Linked DNA regions of Homo sapiens: region 1 is linked to region 2. The links are contacts of gene promoters, found by promoter capture Hi-C in human tissues and cell types (Jung and others, 2019). All regions are on one chromosome and are shown on one strand. Each heading gives the region's core, a stretch centred on a gene start or on the middle of the fragment in contact. The rest is flanking DNA. Distances are from core to core; before and after follow the strand shown.

The links. Contacts are between HindIII fragments. The study calls those that stand out against the background at their distance.
Region 1: a fragment that was not itself captured here is called in contact with the fragment with the promoter of ALOX12 in region 2 in 2 of the 25 tissues and cell types used here (dorsolateral prefrontal cortex and spleen).

What each region holds. Positions count from the first base shown.
Region 1 is chr17:6,863,293-6,870,576 of GRCh38, forward strand. It overlaps the pseudogene ALOX12P2. Among named protein-coding and RNA genes, the nearest start is that of TEKT1, 35 kb to the left of the region's middle. The HindIII fragment of the contact is 5,673 bases long and covers 2,380-7,284 here.
Region 2 is chr17:6,992,960-7,000,054 of GRCh38, forward strand. It overlaps ALOX12 (arachidonate 12-lipoxygenase, 12S type), which reads left to right and starts at 3,090. Exons shown (of 14, transcript NM_000697.3): 1 at 3,090-3,293; 2 at 3,867-4,068; 3 at 5,550-5,631; 4 at 5,756-5,878; 5 at 5,994-6,097; 6 at 6,347-6,507. The coding sequence starts at 3,159. The region is part of intron 2 of ALOX12-AS1 (ALOX12 antisense RNA 1); the gene reads right to left. The HindIII fragment of the contact is 20,112 bases long and covers 1-7,095 here.

The sequences.
Region 1 (7,284 bases), core at 3,966-6,465, 130 kb before region 2:
CCATTCCATGGGCAAGACCTCCCTTCTCTGTCTAGGTCTGGCAGCCACCAAAGGCCAAAGCCACCTAGAGGAGCTTTCTTCCAGCTTCAGTTCAGGGTCTGCGTCTTCCCTCTGTCCACTCTCAATGCCTTCCCTCTGAAGGTCTGCTTGGAGTATGGCAGTCTTCCCTATGGTCTGGTGTCTCAGTGAGTGATGCTCTTCCTGGCTGCATCTAGTCAGCCATCATTGGCTCCTCTCTAAATTTGCATTTAATGTCTGGGAAAAAATAGGCTGTTAATCTTTGAGGCATAATAGTCCAAGTGTACCGCTAATTTCCCCAGGTGTGAAAATGAATAAATTTAAAAGCTGTTGGAACCCCAAAGAACACTTTTAAGCCTTGATAGAGATGTGACTGTGATCTGAGTTATGTATGGTCTCAGCTTCTGTTCTCAGATTATAATCATAGGTTAACTCGTTTTCTTATTTTTCTTGATCTGTTCAATGACTAGAGAGAATTAAATGATGGCAGGGACAAAAGCTTCCTGCCTTCTTAATTAATGACTGTTGTTGTAGATTAACTCCCCTTTATTGTCCTGATTTGCTTAGACAAGATGACAGAAAACCCACGATTATTACAGCCTTTGCAAAAAAAAATGTTAAATGTACTCTTACTCATAAGAAACACTGCATATAACTAATCAGATTTCTGTGACTATCTATGTGCAAACCCTGTATGAATAATGCAACCCTGCTAAAAACTCCTCTGTCTCTGCCTATCTAAACGAAATCTTAACTTCCCTGCTTCGGATTGCTGACTCTATTCCTTTGGAGTTGGGATTTCTGGGTGGGCCATCCTCACATTCTGTGTGTGAATGAACTCTCTTTAAACTAGACTCTGACTCTTTTAATTATTTTAGGTTGACATTTGATAACCTGCAGATGGGACCTGAAGTAAGCCTTCTGCAATCTTCACTGCTTTGCTGACATCTGGAGCTTTGGTACAGCACAAGTGGCTTTTACTTCTTTGACTTCATTGGACCTGGAGAGGGTCTCTGGCCTGGCTTCTCTCAGATTTTGAATCTCTCTGGTTTTGGCTGAGATTCAGACTTTATTGAAGCATCCTGATTCCACGCTCAAGAAAACTGAAATTGAAGCTTTACTTTTAAAAGTAGGAGTTTCATTTGTTATTTCTCTAGAGATTCTGTGGTTTGCAGATTTGTGCTTTCACATTCCTTTGAGGATAAGGTTTTGTTTTATTCCCAAAACTTTTCAGCCTTTTCCCTTGTTCAACTTTGGTGAAGGAGAAAGTGTTTCTCTTTGAAAAGAGGAAGCAAATCTTTGTGGCTCAAATTAAATTTGTGATTTTATATTTTCTAGGTTCTGAAGCTTGGTTCAGCTGACATAGCTAAACTCTTCTTGAGTGACCAGAATTTCCATTTCCACGGTCTTCGGTCACTTAAGAGAACTCAAATTATGGACTATTGTCCCTCCAAAATCAAGTCTTTCTCCCTAAGGAGAGATCCACCTTTAGAAACTCCAGCTGCACTCATGTATGAAACTTATGGTGCCACTTCTTGTCATTATTTAGAAAATGGTTGCACATAACTCATGAAAAACTAAAATTGCAATGGCCAAAGTGGGATACCTCAACTAATTTACCTGTGTGCTCAATAAGAAAAAGCTGGTTCTAGGATAAAACAGAATAGTTAGGAGAGTTCTTTTCAATGGTATTTAAAACATCCAAAAGAGATTTTAATAGAGTTACTTCTTTACAAAAGGAGAATAAAAAGTTACCTAAAACAATTTCCAAATTTAAAAAGACAGCTGAAATTTCTCCTCCTCCTCCCTCACCTCCTCCTTCTCTTTGTCCTTTATTACCTGGGCTACTTTACCTAGAACGACCTCTTCTTTCTCCTCCCCCTGCTTCTGCTCTGGTTCCATCCCTGGAACAGCCAGTGTCTGGTAGGGATTAACCTGCCCTAGTGTATCAGTCACGGTAGAACTTAAAGGTAGAATTAAGGAATTTCCTGATCCTCACTAGGACCCTGTGAGTCCTAGTCTTCTGGTTTTGCCAGAAAAATCGCAATTAAATATTTGAGCTTATGACCCTGGCTCTATTTTAAGATGAATAAAAATTACTTTAAATGGAGAACTAACACAAACTCTTATTAACAGACCTGGAATCACCTTATCTGTAATAAAGTCCACCTTATTACAAGGTCCCATTCCTTGAAGTAAACAAACAATTCAATCTGTAGTTGTCACAAATACTCTAAGAGACTTCTTAGAATTATTTAATACCTACATTTCTTTCTCCCCAAGAGGAAAATGTATTTAGAATTAGATGATAAAACTGAATTATTGGACATACTTTTGTCAACAATCCATATTGACATGGAAGACACTAAATTATTGAGTAGTAAAAAATTATAAAACCCACTAAATGTAGTACCTAATCAATCATGGTTAAAGTCTTCCACTGATTTTGGAAAATTTATCTTGCCTACCCCAATCAAAGTTCAATAGATTCATCAAAACCCCTTCCAAACCTTAAACAATACCCTCTAAGAACTGAAGCCCTAAAAGGTATAAAGCCTATAGTTTCAGATTATTTAAGAATAGGACTTGATTATTCCCTGTAACAGCCAATGTAATACTCCAGTCCTTCCTGTAAGGAAATCAAACGATAGAGGATGGAGGTTTGTACAGAATCTGACAGCAATTAAAAACATAGTCACTCTTTGACATCCAGAAGGGCCAAACTTCCATATGTTGTTGACTGACATCCCAACTGAACCTGAGTTCTTTTCTTTTTACTTTGAGACAGGGCCTTACTCTGTTGCCCAGGCTGGAGTGCAGTGTGATTATAGCTCACTGAGGCCTCAATCTCCTGGGCTCAAGCAGTTCTCCCGCCTCGGCCTCCTGTATAGCTGGGACTACAGGTGCGCACCACAACACTTGGCTACTTTTTGTATATTTTGTAGAGATGGGGTTATCCCCCTTGTTACCCAGGCTGGTCTTGAACTCCTGGGCTCAAGCCATCCACCTGCCTCGGCTTCCCAAATTGCTGGGACTACAGGCATGAGCCACCTCGCCGGCTGAAGCTGAGTTCTTTACTGTAATAGACTTATGTAGTACATTCTTTAATATTTCTGTAGATAAAAATAATCAATTTCTCTTCACCTTCACTTGGGAAGGAAGACAATACACATGAATAGTCATGCCTCAGGGATGAACTGAGAGCCCAGCTTACTTTTCACAAATATTAAAAGCAGATCTCCCAGATATTGACTTCTTGAAAATTCATTTTAATAAAATACACAGGCAATTTACTCCTCTGCTCAGAGGATAAGCAATTATTTCTTAAAAATGGGATTCACTTGTTACAACAATTAGACTCAAAGGGACACAAAGCTTCTAAAGAAAAACACCGCCTGTAATCCCAGCACTTTGGGAGGCCGAGGCGGGTGGATCATGAGGTCAGGAGATCGAGACCATCCTGGCTAACAAGGTGAAACCCCGTCTCTACTAAAAATACAAAAAAAAAATTAGCCGGGCGCGGTGGCGGGCGCCTGTAGTCCCAGCTACTCGGGAGGCTGAGGCAGGAGAATGGCGTGAACCCGGGAAGCGGAGCTTGCAGTGAGCCGAGATTGCGCCACTGCAGTCCGCAGTCCGGCCTGGGCGACAGAGCGAGACTCCGTCTCAAAAAAAAAAAAAAAAAAAAAAAAAAAAAAAAAAAAAAAAAAGAAAAACACCAATCCTGTCAAAAACAAGTGACGTGCTTAGGCCACCTAATATTTAAGGAAGGACTTTCTATTAGTCCATACCGACTGAAAGGAGTTTTAGCTCTTCTGCCATGAAGAACCAAGAAACAGCTGGGAGAGTTCTGGGGGCTGGCAAGACATTTAAAAACTTGGATCCCAAACTTTTCTTTAAAAGCCTGCCCCTTGGCCGGACACAGTGGCTCAGGCATGAGGCCTGTAATCCCAGCACTTTGGGAGGCTGAGGCAGGTGGATCACCTGAGGTCGGGAGTTCGAGACCAGCCTGGCCAACATGGTGAAACCCTGCCTCTACTAAAAATACAAAAAAAATAGCTGAGTGTGGTGGCGGGAGCCTGTAATCCCAGCTACTTGGGAGGCTGGGGCAGGAGAATCGCTTGAACCCGGGAGGCAGAGGTTGCAGTGAGCCAAGGTCGCGCCAGTGCACTCAAGCCTGGGCAAAAAGAATAAGACTCCATCTAAATGAATGAATGAATGAATGCCTGGCCCTTACATGCTTCTTTTAAACAGGACATTCCAGACCCTCTTGTTTGGACAGAAGAAAATCAAGAAATGTCAGAAATGATCAAAAATGACTTTACTAATGCCCAAGCTTTGGTGCATGCAGATTATAATCTTCTATTTTCAGTATTTGTACATGAAAGTGATGGAAAGATTTTAAGGGTCCTGACTAAAAAACATGGAGCCCAAAGAGACCTGTGGGGTATTGTAGCCAACAGTTAGACTCTGTAATAAGAGGATTTCCATCTTCCATGAGAGCCGTAAAGCCCCTGCTTTGTTAGTTGAAGCAACTGACGAAATTCTCATGGTGACAGCCCTTAGTGGTTTTGTTTCTCATTCTTGTGAAAGCATTTGCTAAACTCGCGTCATACTCAATATTATTCAGTTAGTAGACTAGTCTCATACGAAGTTTTCTTTCTTTCAGCTTCTCATATCAACATCTCTAGATGTAATAACCTAAATCCTACAACTCTTCTGTCTCCATTTCCAGATAAAACACTGCACTATTGCATAACCCTAACTGATCACTGATCAACTTCTTTCTCCCAGGACTGACCTCAAAGAGACCCCCCTTACTACTGCCAATGGTGTTTGGTTTACAAATGGATCTTACTTAAAGGATAAATCTGGGACTTACCACTCAGGTTATACAATAGTATCTTTAACTGGGGGGAAAAAAAGAAGGAGGAGAAGAAGAAGAGGAAAGTGTTAAGCTTCTAGGCACCACCTGAGCTCAACAAACAGAATTAATTACATTAGTCAGGACTTGTCAATTGGCAAGAGGAATAACTGCTAATATTAATATAGAGAGTAGATATGTTTTTAGAGTAGCTCATGATTTTGAAACACTATGGAAACACAGGATTTTTAACTTCTTCTGGTCAGTCCTTAAAAAGTGGCCACCTCATTTCATGATTTTTGAAAGCTATATTATTACCACAGTCACTGTTTATAATTAAAATTCCAGGCCATTTCAAATCAGATATCCCAGAAAGCAAAGAAAATTAGCTAGCTGATAAGGTAGCAAAAAGAGTGGCTCTAAACAAAAACACTCTGTATTAACTCTTAAACACCTGAATTTGATATAAAATTAGCTCAATCCAGAGCTCCAAAATCAGAATACAAAATCACACTTTGTGCTTGAATAAACTCCCTTTAAATTAGACTCTGATTCTTTTGATTATTTTAGGTTGACGCAGGTGAAGGCAAATAGATGCTGTGATTCAGGGCAGAGGAATTTACTGGAGAAGGTGGAAACATGAGTCAACCGTGAAGTAATTGGTGTCAGGGAGTATTGAAATGAGGATGGTTTTAGGGTTAGAAACTAAAGGGAATCCAGGCTTCATTAGTTTGTTTATGGCTTGCAGGTATTGGACTATTTAATATTCTTCCCATTAAGCTTTTGAATAGGCTTTATTTATTTTTCTGAGACGGAGTCTCGCTCTGTCGCCCAGGCTGGAATGCAGTGGCACAATCTTAGCTCACTGCAGCCTCCACCTGCTGGGTTCAAGTGATTCTCCTACCTCAGCCTCCCGAGTAGCTGGGACTACAGGCGCACACCACCATGCCCAGCTAATTTTTGTATTTTTAGTAGAGACAGGGTTTCACCATGTTGGCCAGGATGGTCTCGATCTCTTGACTTTGTGATCTGCCTGCCTCGGCCTCCCAAAGTGCTGGAATTACAGGTGTGAGCCACGGTGCCCGGCCAATAGGCTTTATTTTTTAGAACAGCATTTGATTTACAGAAAAATTGAGTATATAGCACAGAGAATTCCCACATATCCCTGTTCCTCTTTACACAGTTTCGCCTATTATTAGCATCTTGCTTTAGTGTTGTTACAGTTCATATACTTTACATTGTTAAATATAGTCTATTTAAAGACTATAGTTTATATTAGTTCACTCTTGGTATTGTATGGTTCTAAGGGTTTTGACAAACTCATAATGATTTCTCCGTTACAAGATCATGCAGAATAGTTTTACCTCCTAACACTGTCTATGTTCTACCTATTCATTCCTCTCCAGCTCTCTCCAAGCCTCTGCCAACTGCTGATCTTTTTACTGTCTCTATAGTTTTGTCTTGTCTAGAATGCCATCAGTGTGAAGTTCCTCCATGTCTTACTTTTTTCTTAAACTCAGTGGCAAGAAGCTCCATGTCTTTTAATTGTGTGATAGCTCATTTTAAAAGTTGCTGAATCGTATTCCATCGAATGACTGTACTACAGTTTATTCACTCACCTATTGAAGGATATCTTGGTTGCTTCCAGTTGTTGACAATTTTGAATAAAACCGCTATAAACATTTATGTGCAGGTTTTTGTGCTGAAATAAGTAGTTAAATATCTAGGAGTACAACTGCTGGATCAGATGGTAAAGCTATATATTTAGTTTGTGGGAAACTTCCAAATTTTCCAAAGCCACTCTGCCATCGTGCATTCCCACCAGCAATAAATGAAAGTTCCTATTGCTCTTCATCCTTGTCAGCATTTGGTATTGACACTGGTATCTATTGTAGTTTGTTTATTTATTTAATTTTTAGTGTTTGAGACAGGGTCTTGCTCTGTTGCTCAGGCTGGAGTGCAGTGGCACAATCATGGCTCACTGCAGCTTCCACCTCCTGGGCTCAAGCAATCCTCCTGCCTCAACCTCCAGAGTAGCTGGACCTACAGACACATGACAACACACATGGAAAATTTTTAAATTTGTTTTGCAGAGATGGGGTCTTGTTGCCCGGGCTTCTTGACCTCCTGGTCTCAAGTAATCCTCCCACCTCGGCCTCCCAAAGTGTTGTGACTACAGGCATGAGCTTCTGCACCTGGCTTCACTGTAGTTTTAATTTGCAATTTCCTAATGGCATATGACTTGAGCATCTTTTCCTATACTCATTTGCCGTATGTCTACCTTCTTTCATGAGATATCTGTTCAGATCTTTTGCCCTTTTTTTTTTGGTTTTTTGTTTTGAGACAGAGTCTCGCTCTGTCGCCGAGGCTGGAGTGCAGTGGCACTGTGTCAGCTCACTGCAACC
Region 2 (7,095 bases), core at 1,840-4,339:
TTTTTTTTTTTGAGACAAAGTCTCACTCTTGTTGCCCAGGCTGGAGTACAGTGGCACAATCTCAGCTCACCGCAACCTCCGCCTCCCGGGTTCAAGCAATTCTCCTGCCTCAGCCTCCCAAGTAGGTGGGATTACAGGCATCCTCTACCACGCCTGGCTAATTTTTTGTATTTTTAGTAGAGATGGGGTTTCCCCATGTTGGCCAGACTGGTCTCAAACTCCTGACCTCAGGTGATCCACCCACCTCAGCCTCCCAAAGTGCGGGGATTACAGGCGTGAGCCACCGCACCCAGCCAGAAAACTTGTAAGTTATTTTCTGTGTCTTCAAAACGTGTATAAATATTTTTAGAAGCCACACAGCCTCTTGCCAGCTTTACTACCCAGGGATGTCTTTCACAAAGACCCAGGAGCCATCTCCTTGAAATGTAAACACCAAGAAAGATGGAGCCTTCATTTCCCAGTTTCTGTGGGAGGGTAGGACTAACTTAAATGGACACTTTGCTTGAGCTGCAAAACTATCTGCTGTCATAAAAATCTGAAAAGCTGGCTGGGCATGGTGGCTCACGCCTGTAATCCCAGCACTTTGGGAAGCCGAGGTGGGTGGATCATCTGAGGTCAGGAGTTTAAGACCAGCCTGGCCAACATGGCAAAACCTCGTCTCTACTAAAAATACAAAAACTAGCCAGGCTTGGTGGTGCACACCTGTAATCCCAGCTACTCAGGAAGCTGAGGCAAGAGAATCGCTTGAACCTGGGAGGTGGAGGTTGCAGTGAGCCGAGATCACGCCACTGCACTCTAGCCTGGGCAACAGAGCAAGACTCTATCTCAAAAAAAAAAGAGAAGTTTTTCTTCTGATTAAGCCAGTTAGCTAACATAGATGGTCATCACAATTGCCAGGTGTCTCTAGACTGCACTATATGTGACAAATGGTGCTATCGAGTCCTCCTAAAGATTATTTATAGTTTATCTTGAGAACACATATGTAATGGGCTGTATCTGCTTGGCTAGATAAAAGTGAGACTTCCTTCTGTCTTTGCAGTCTCTTAGCAAACTGCCTGTGATGTGCTCACATTCTGGTTTAATGCTTATTCAATAATAAAACTGTTTTCTTTCTTCACTACTTTCGTGGAGAGGTTTTTTCTGGGTTGGGAGAAAATTTTGCTTCTAATTATATTCTCCCAACATAGCGCATGTGCTTAAAAGGGAAACAAAAGCAGGAGGGGGAAGGGTCTAGAGTGATAAGAGCTCTAGTGAGAGGCTAGGCCTAGAGAGGGACATGGAGAAATAGCATGCGGAGAGGAACGGTAGAGGAGCAACGCTAACATTCAGTTGTAAATAATACAATCATAGCAGCTAATACATAGAGGGACTACACGCCAAGCACTGTTCTCACTGTTTAGCCATATTCACTCATTTAGCATGCGCAGTAGCTTGAATCCGGTTTTTCAATTATTCATTCCCTCTCTCTGCACGTGGCCGTAGAGTACACTAGAGTGGGCAGAAAATAAGTCACAAAACAGCAAAGAAACAGTGCTTTTGGAAGTAGGTATGAGACAAACTCTTTTCTAGGCAAAAGTAACCCACGAAAATGTGTGTGGAAAGGCCAGATCCTACTATTAGGCAGGATGGGAATTTGAGCCATTTTATTTGGATATTACAGAATGGGGTGACCCCAGAAAACTGGAAGAACTGGGGACCAGCAAATGGCCGACCTGCAGTCCTGAGCAGAGGATGTAGGCCAGAGTGGACCTAGAAGATAAGAAAGGGAATTGAATCCAGTAAGGGACAGACACTTTATTTTTTTATTTTTATTTATTTATTTATTTATTTTTGAGATAGAGTCTGATCTGGAGGCTGGAAGGCGGGGCTAAAACTCCCACTCACTTACCTCTACCAACAACTAGGCCACCAAGTCATTTCTGAGGACTGGCTCAAGAAAGCAGATTTAACTTACACTGGCCTAGCCCAGGCCACCAGATGCATCCACGGAGATCCAAATGCATATAATCACTTGAATCAAGATCTAGACAGGGACGCGTGCAGCAGGCTTCATCTGACTGATTCCTGACACGGGAGAGAAAGCCTAAGCTCCGAATCATCCTTCAATGTTTACAAAGGCCCTAAATAGCAGTGGGCTAATTGCTGTTCCTGGATTTCCAGGAGACCTGAGACCCATGAAGGAGCAGGAAAGAGCTTGGGGATAAAAAATTAATCTGGAACCTACTGGAGCGGAAGGGGCTGCACTCACCTGGAAAAGACAAAGTTCTTGGGAACTGGCCACGTAGGCCAGGTCCCTAAGCAATTCCATCCCGCACCCTAACACCCCGACTGGTGTTCCTGGGTCCCTAACATTGTCTGTACCCGCTTCGGAGGTTGGACAAAATGAGTTTTTCACTGCCCTGCCTCAGGCCTCTCTCAAAGGTCTGGCCCATGATATTTGGTGTACATTGGGACCCCAGCGCCCAGATATTTGAAACGGGGTGGGGAGCGGGTGTTGAGCTGCTACATTTCCAGGTTCTAGGTACCCTGGGGAACCCCTGGTCGTTGACGGAAGCACAGCGTTCAAGGGCGGCAGAGCTCAGGTACTGGAGGACACATGGGCCGCGCCGGGTCTAGCCGCGGGACATCCCCAGACCCCAGCACGGCCTCCCAGGCCGACCTTCCAGAAGCCGGCCCACTGCCTTCCCCGGGTCCCAGCCCAGAAAAGCGGAGACCTTCCCCTCCGTTTGGAAGATGGACTCATCCCCTACTTCCTCCTGGCTCCCCAGAAGACCTGGAGACCTCGGGAAGTGTTCTCATCTATGTTCGCTCCAACCCGGGGGCTCAGGCCCACCTCGATCCCGCCTTCCCGGGAGGTCCAGGAAGGTCCCGCCGCACCCACCCCGTTGGCCTCACCCTGGCTCGGGCCCCTTTATCATCCTGCAGCTACGCTCCGACCAGGAGGCACAGCCAGTCCCCACAGCCGGCTCTACCGCTCTGCTCGCAGGTTTGGGCTAGTCTGGGGCGGGGACTTGGGAGCGCCTAAAACTTGCGAGGAGGGCGGGGCCGCAGACCGGTCCTTTAAAGGTTGGAAGTGGCCCCGAGGCGCCGGCAGCCCTGGGCGGTCCCGGGAATCGCACAGGACCCGGCTCCCCTCGCCTAAGCTGCTGGGGGGCGCCATGGGCCGCTACCGCATCCGCGTGGCCACCGGGGCCTGGCTCTTCTCCGGGTCGTACAACCGCGTGCAGCTTTGGCTGGTCGGGACGCGCGGGGAGGCGGAGCTGGAGCTGCAGCTGCGGCCCGCGCGGGGCGAGGTCAGCGCGGGGAGCGAGGGGAGCTAGGGCAGCGGGGACCCCGGGCCCAGGCCCGGGCCGAGCTGGGCTCGCGGCGGGAGGGCGGGAGGCTGGGGGCGAGGTGACAGCGCGACCTCGCGGACTGGGACTTCCACGAAGCTGGGACGAGGTGGGCAAGATTAGGGACAGGGTCCGCAGCTGGGATCCCGGGCTGGGCTCAACCCCATCTCCCTTTCCCGCCCCTGGTCCCGGCAGCCCCCAGCTCCTTCTCCCAGTGACCCAGAGCCAATGTAAGTATGAGGCCAGAGGTCAGACGTGAAGCTCCTCCAAGAACCGGCGCGGGGAGAGCTCAGTTAATGGGACCCACGTGGGCGATGCTGCTCCAGCATCAGCTCCAGGCGCTGCGGGCCCTCGTCCTCCACCCGACTCCGGGCGTCTGAGACCCAAAGAGCAGGTTGTGCGGGGGCGGGAACGAGGCGATGCTGTCTTTGGAGGCCCTGAGAAACTGAGGTTGCACAGGAGCGCGGCTCTGTCCTCGAAACGGCCTCAGTCGGGTCCCTCCTACTAAGTCTGGCCTGGGTCCGGCCTGCACAGGAGGAGGAGTTTGATCATGACGTTGCAGAGGACTTGGGGCTCCTGCAGTTCGTGAGGCTGCGCAAGCACCACTGGCTGGTGGACGACGCGTGGTTCTGCGACCGCATCACGGTGCAGGGCCCTGGAGCCTGCGCGGAGGTGGCCTTCCCGTGCTACCGCTGGGTGCAGGGCGAGGACATCCTGAGCCTGCCCGAGGGCACCGGTGAGCAGGCGGCGTCGGGGAAGGAGGCACAAGGTCTCGGGAACTGCTGCGGGGCTAGGAGGGCAGAGTTAAGGACGGTCGGAGCAGACTTAGAGGATGTATGGGCCCAGGGCAGGTGAAATGTAGGGATCCCAGGGTGCTGGACAGAAAACGGGAAGGAGTTATGAATTCCCAAAGTTTTACACAGGCTAAGAGAGGCTGCGTGTGAGGCTGGAGGCAGGGAGTAAGTGATCTGGAGATCCCATCTTCCAAGAAGGCAAAGACAGAAAGTGGGAGTTGCAGCGATCCAGGAAAACAGAGAAGCAAAGTGAAAGTAGGAAGGAGATGTAAAGGTGACTCAGAAGTCAGGTGAGGGGACCACATGGAACAGGAGGGGGTGGGTGACCCGTGAGAGCAGACAGCTAAGGGAAGAAAACATAGGATGCTGGAGAGCTGGTTTGGTTGGAATAACACGGAAGACACCCGTGAAAGACAAGAAGCACACTGGCCCGCAGGAGACGAGGAGGAATGAGGATGGCAAATAGTGAATTTTTTTTTTTTTTTTTTTTGAGATGGAGTCTTGCTTTGTTGCCCAGGCTGGAGTGCAGTGGTGCGATCTTGGCTCACTGCAACCTCCACCTCCTGGGTTCACGCCATTCTCCTGCCTCAGCCTCCCGAGTAGCTGGGACTACAGGCACCCCCCACCACACCCGGCTAATTTTTTATATTTTTTTTAGTAGAGATGGAGTTTCACCGTATTAGCCAGGATGGTCTCGATCTCCTGACCTCGTGATCCGCCCTCCTTGGCCTCTCAAAGTGCTGGGATTACAGGCTTGAGCCACCACGCCCGGCCCAAATAGTGAATTTTTAACCATGGGTAATGAGTAAAAGAGAGATGAATCCAGAGATGAGTGAGGGCAGTAGGGATGGAACATCAAATCTATGACTTTGAGACAGGTGAGTGTAAATGCAGAAAAGACCCAGAATAAGTCCATAGATACAGATTATGATAGTAAATCCAGAAAGATGAGGTTTAAAAAAAAAAAAGCAAATGTAGAATCTTTTGAGGACAGGTGAAGGCGTGGCAGGTGAGGTTTAAGATGTGAAATTAATCAAAGCAATCTGTAGTAGACAGTAGGTGTAGGTGTATAGGTGACTAAGATTTCATCACCTTAATTAAGGTGATTTTTTTCCAACCATAGATATTGATGAAGTAAGGCCAGGTAGGGGAAGATGAGTGAAGGAGCAAGAAATGGTGGCAAACAGGAGGTTTTTATCTACAGGCAAAGGATGAGGGCTGAAATAAGAGAAAGCAGGAGTGCAAAGTTGGCAAAGATGGGATAAACGTGTCTGGTGGATAATCAAATGAGGCAAAGCCAGAGATAAAAGCAACAGTGCATGGCTGAAAACATGGAATACGGCTAACCACAGGGAGATGAGGACAAGAGGCGGGCATAGGACCAGACAGAGCCGTGAGGCCAATTGTCTTGATGTCTCCCCAGCCCGCCTGCCAGGAGACAATGCTTTGGACATGTTCCAGAAGCATCGAGAGAAGGAACTGAAAGACAGACAGCAGATCTACTGGTGACCACCCACCCCTTAAACTAACCCCGCCACCACTGTCCCACCCCTTCCCTGCCCCTGCCCCTGCCCCTGGCCCCATCACTGACCATGACATCCTTCCTGAAGCTTTGTCCCCAACTCCTAGCTGGGCCACCTGGAAGGAAGGGTTACCCCTGACCATCGCTGCAGACCGTAAGGATGATCTACCTCCAAATATGAGATTCCATGAGGAGAAGAGGCTGGACTTTGAATGGACACTGAAGGCAGGGTGAGAAAAAGGCTAGACCTCGGAGTGAAATAAGGGCTGGGAGGGCCAAGAATGATGATAGACGGTGAGGGACTGAGGGATCAGCTGATGAGTTAAGCCTCAATACCTGTCCTAGGGCTCTGGAGATGGCCCTCAAACGTGTTTACACCCTCCTGAGCTCCTGGAACTGCCTAGAAGACTTTGATCAGATCTTCTGGGGCCAGAAGAGTGCCCTGGCTGGTCAGTGGTTCCCCGAGGTCTCCATAATCCCTTAATGGCCCCTCTGGATGACTCATCACACTCCACAGTCCCCCGTAACTCTTTGCAAGAAGAGACCTTATCATATCTGGTCAACTCAGAGAGGCCTTGAGAATGAAAACGCAGAAGCTGGGTTCAGGGAGGGTTATATACCTGAACCCCTGGGGTAGATTTTGGAGAAGGGATATGCAGGCTGTGGTACATATATCCTCCTTTCACCGCCCACCAAAGAGAAGGTTCGCCAGTGCTGGCAGGATGATGAGTTGTTCAGCTACCAGTTCCTCAATGGTGCCAACCCCATGCTGTTGAGACGCTCGACCTCTCTGCCCTCCAGGCTAGTGCTGCCCTCGGGGATGGAAGAGCTTCAGGCTCAACTGGAGAAAGAACTTCAGGTACCTCTCCTTCCCCTGCCTGGCACTGTTCTCTCCTTAGTAGTGTGGTGAGAACGGACAGAGAGAATCCAAACTGAGTCAGAGGAAGGCTGCAGTACTGCATTGCCCCTTGGTGCAGTCCTGTGCTGGAAAAATACAGAAATAAAATATGTAGGGGAAGAAACTATGAGGAGCTCCCAGCAGGAAGGGGAAAATAGAATGGATCCCCAGCACACAGAGAGGGGCTGGAGATGTTAGCAGGAACAGTGACATTGCCTGGCCGCAGTGTTCTGGACTCCAGTGTTCATGGGCAGGGAGAAAAGTGAGGAAGTGCCATCAGGTGGGGAGAATCGGGGAGGCTTTCTAGAAAAAGAGAGCGGGGTTTGGAAGCAATGGACTGTACTGAGGACAAGCCTAGGCAAAATGTGTGCGTATGCATGTGTGTGCTGTATGCGGTGGCAGGGGTAGTAGGGGAAGCTCTCTGGAATATTTGGCAGAGGATGTGAGATTTGAATAGGGAATGAAAGAGCATTTGCTGAGCTGATAGGAGCCAAAACCAGAGCGCAGACCATTCGGGAATGATCAGAAAGGGGCCTGGCCATTTGACAG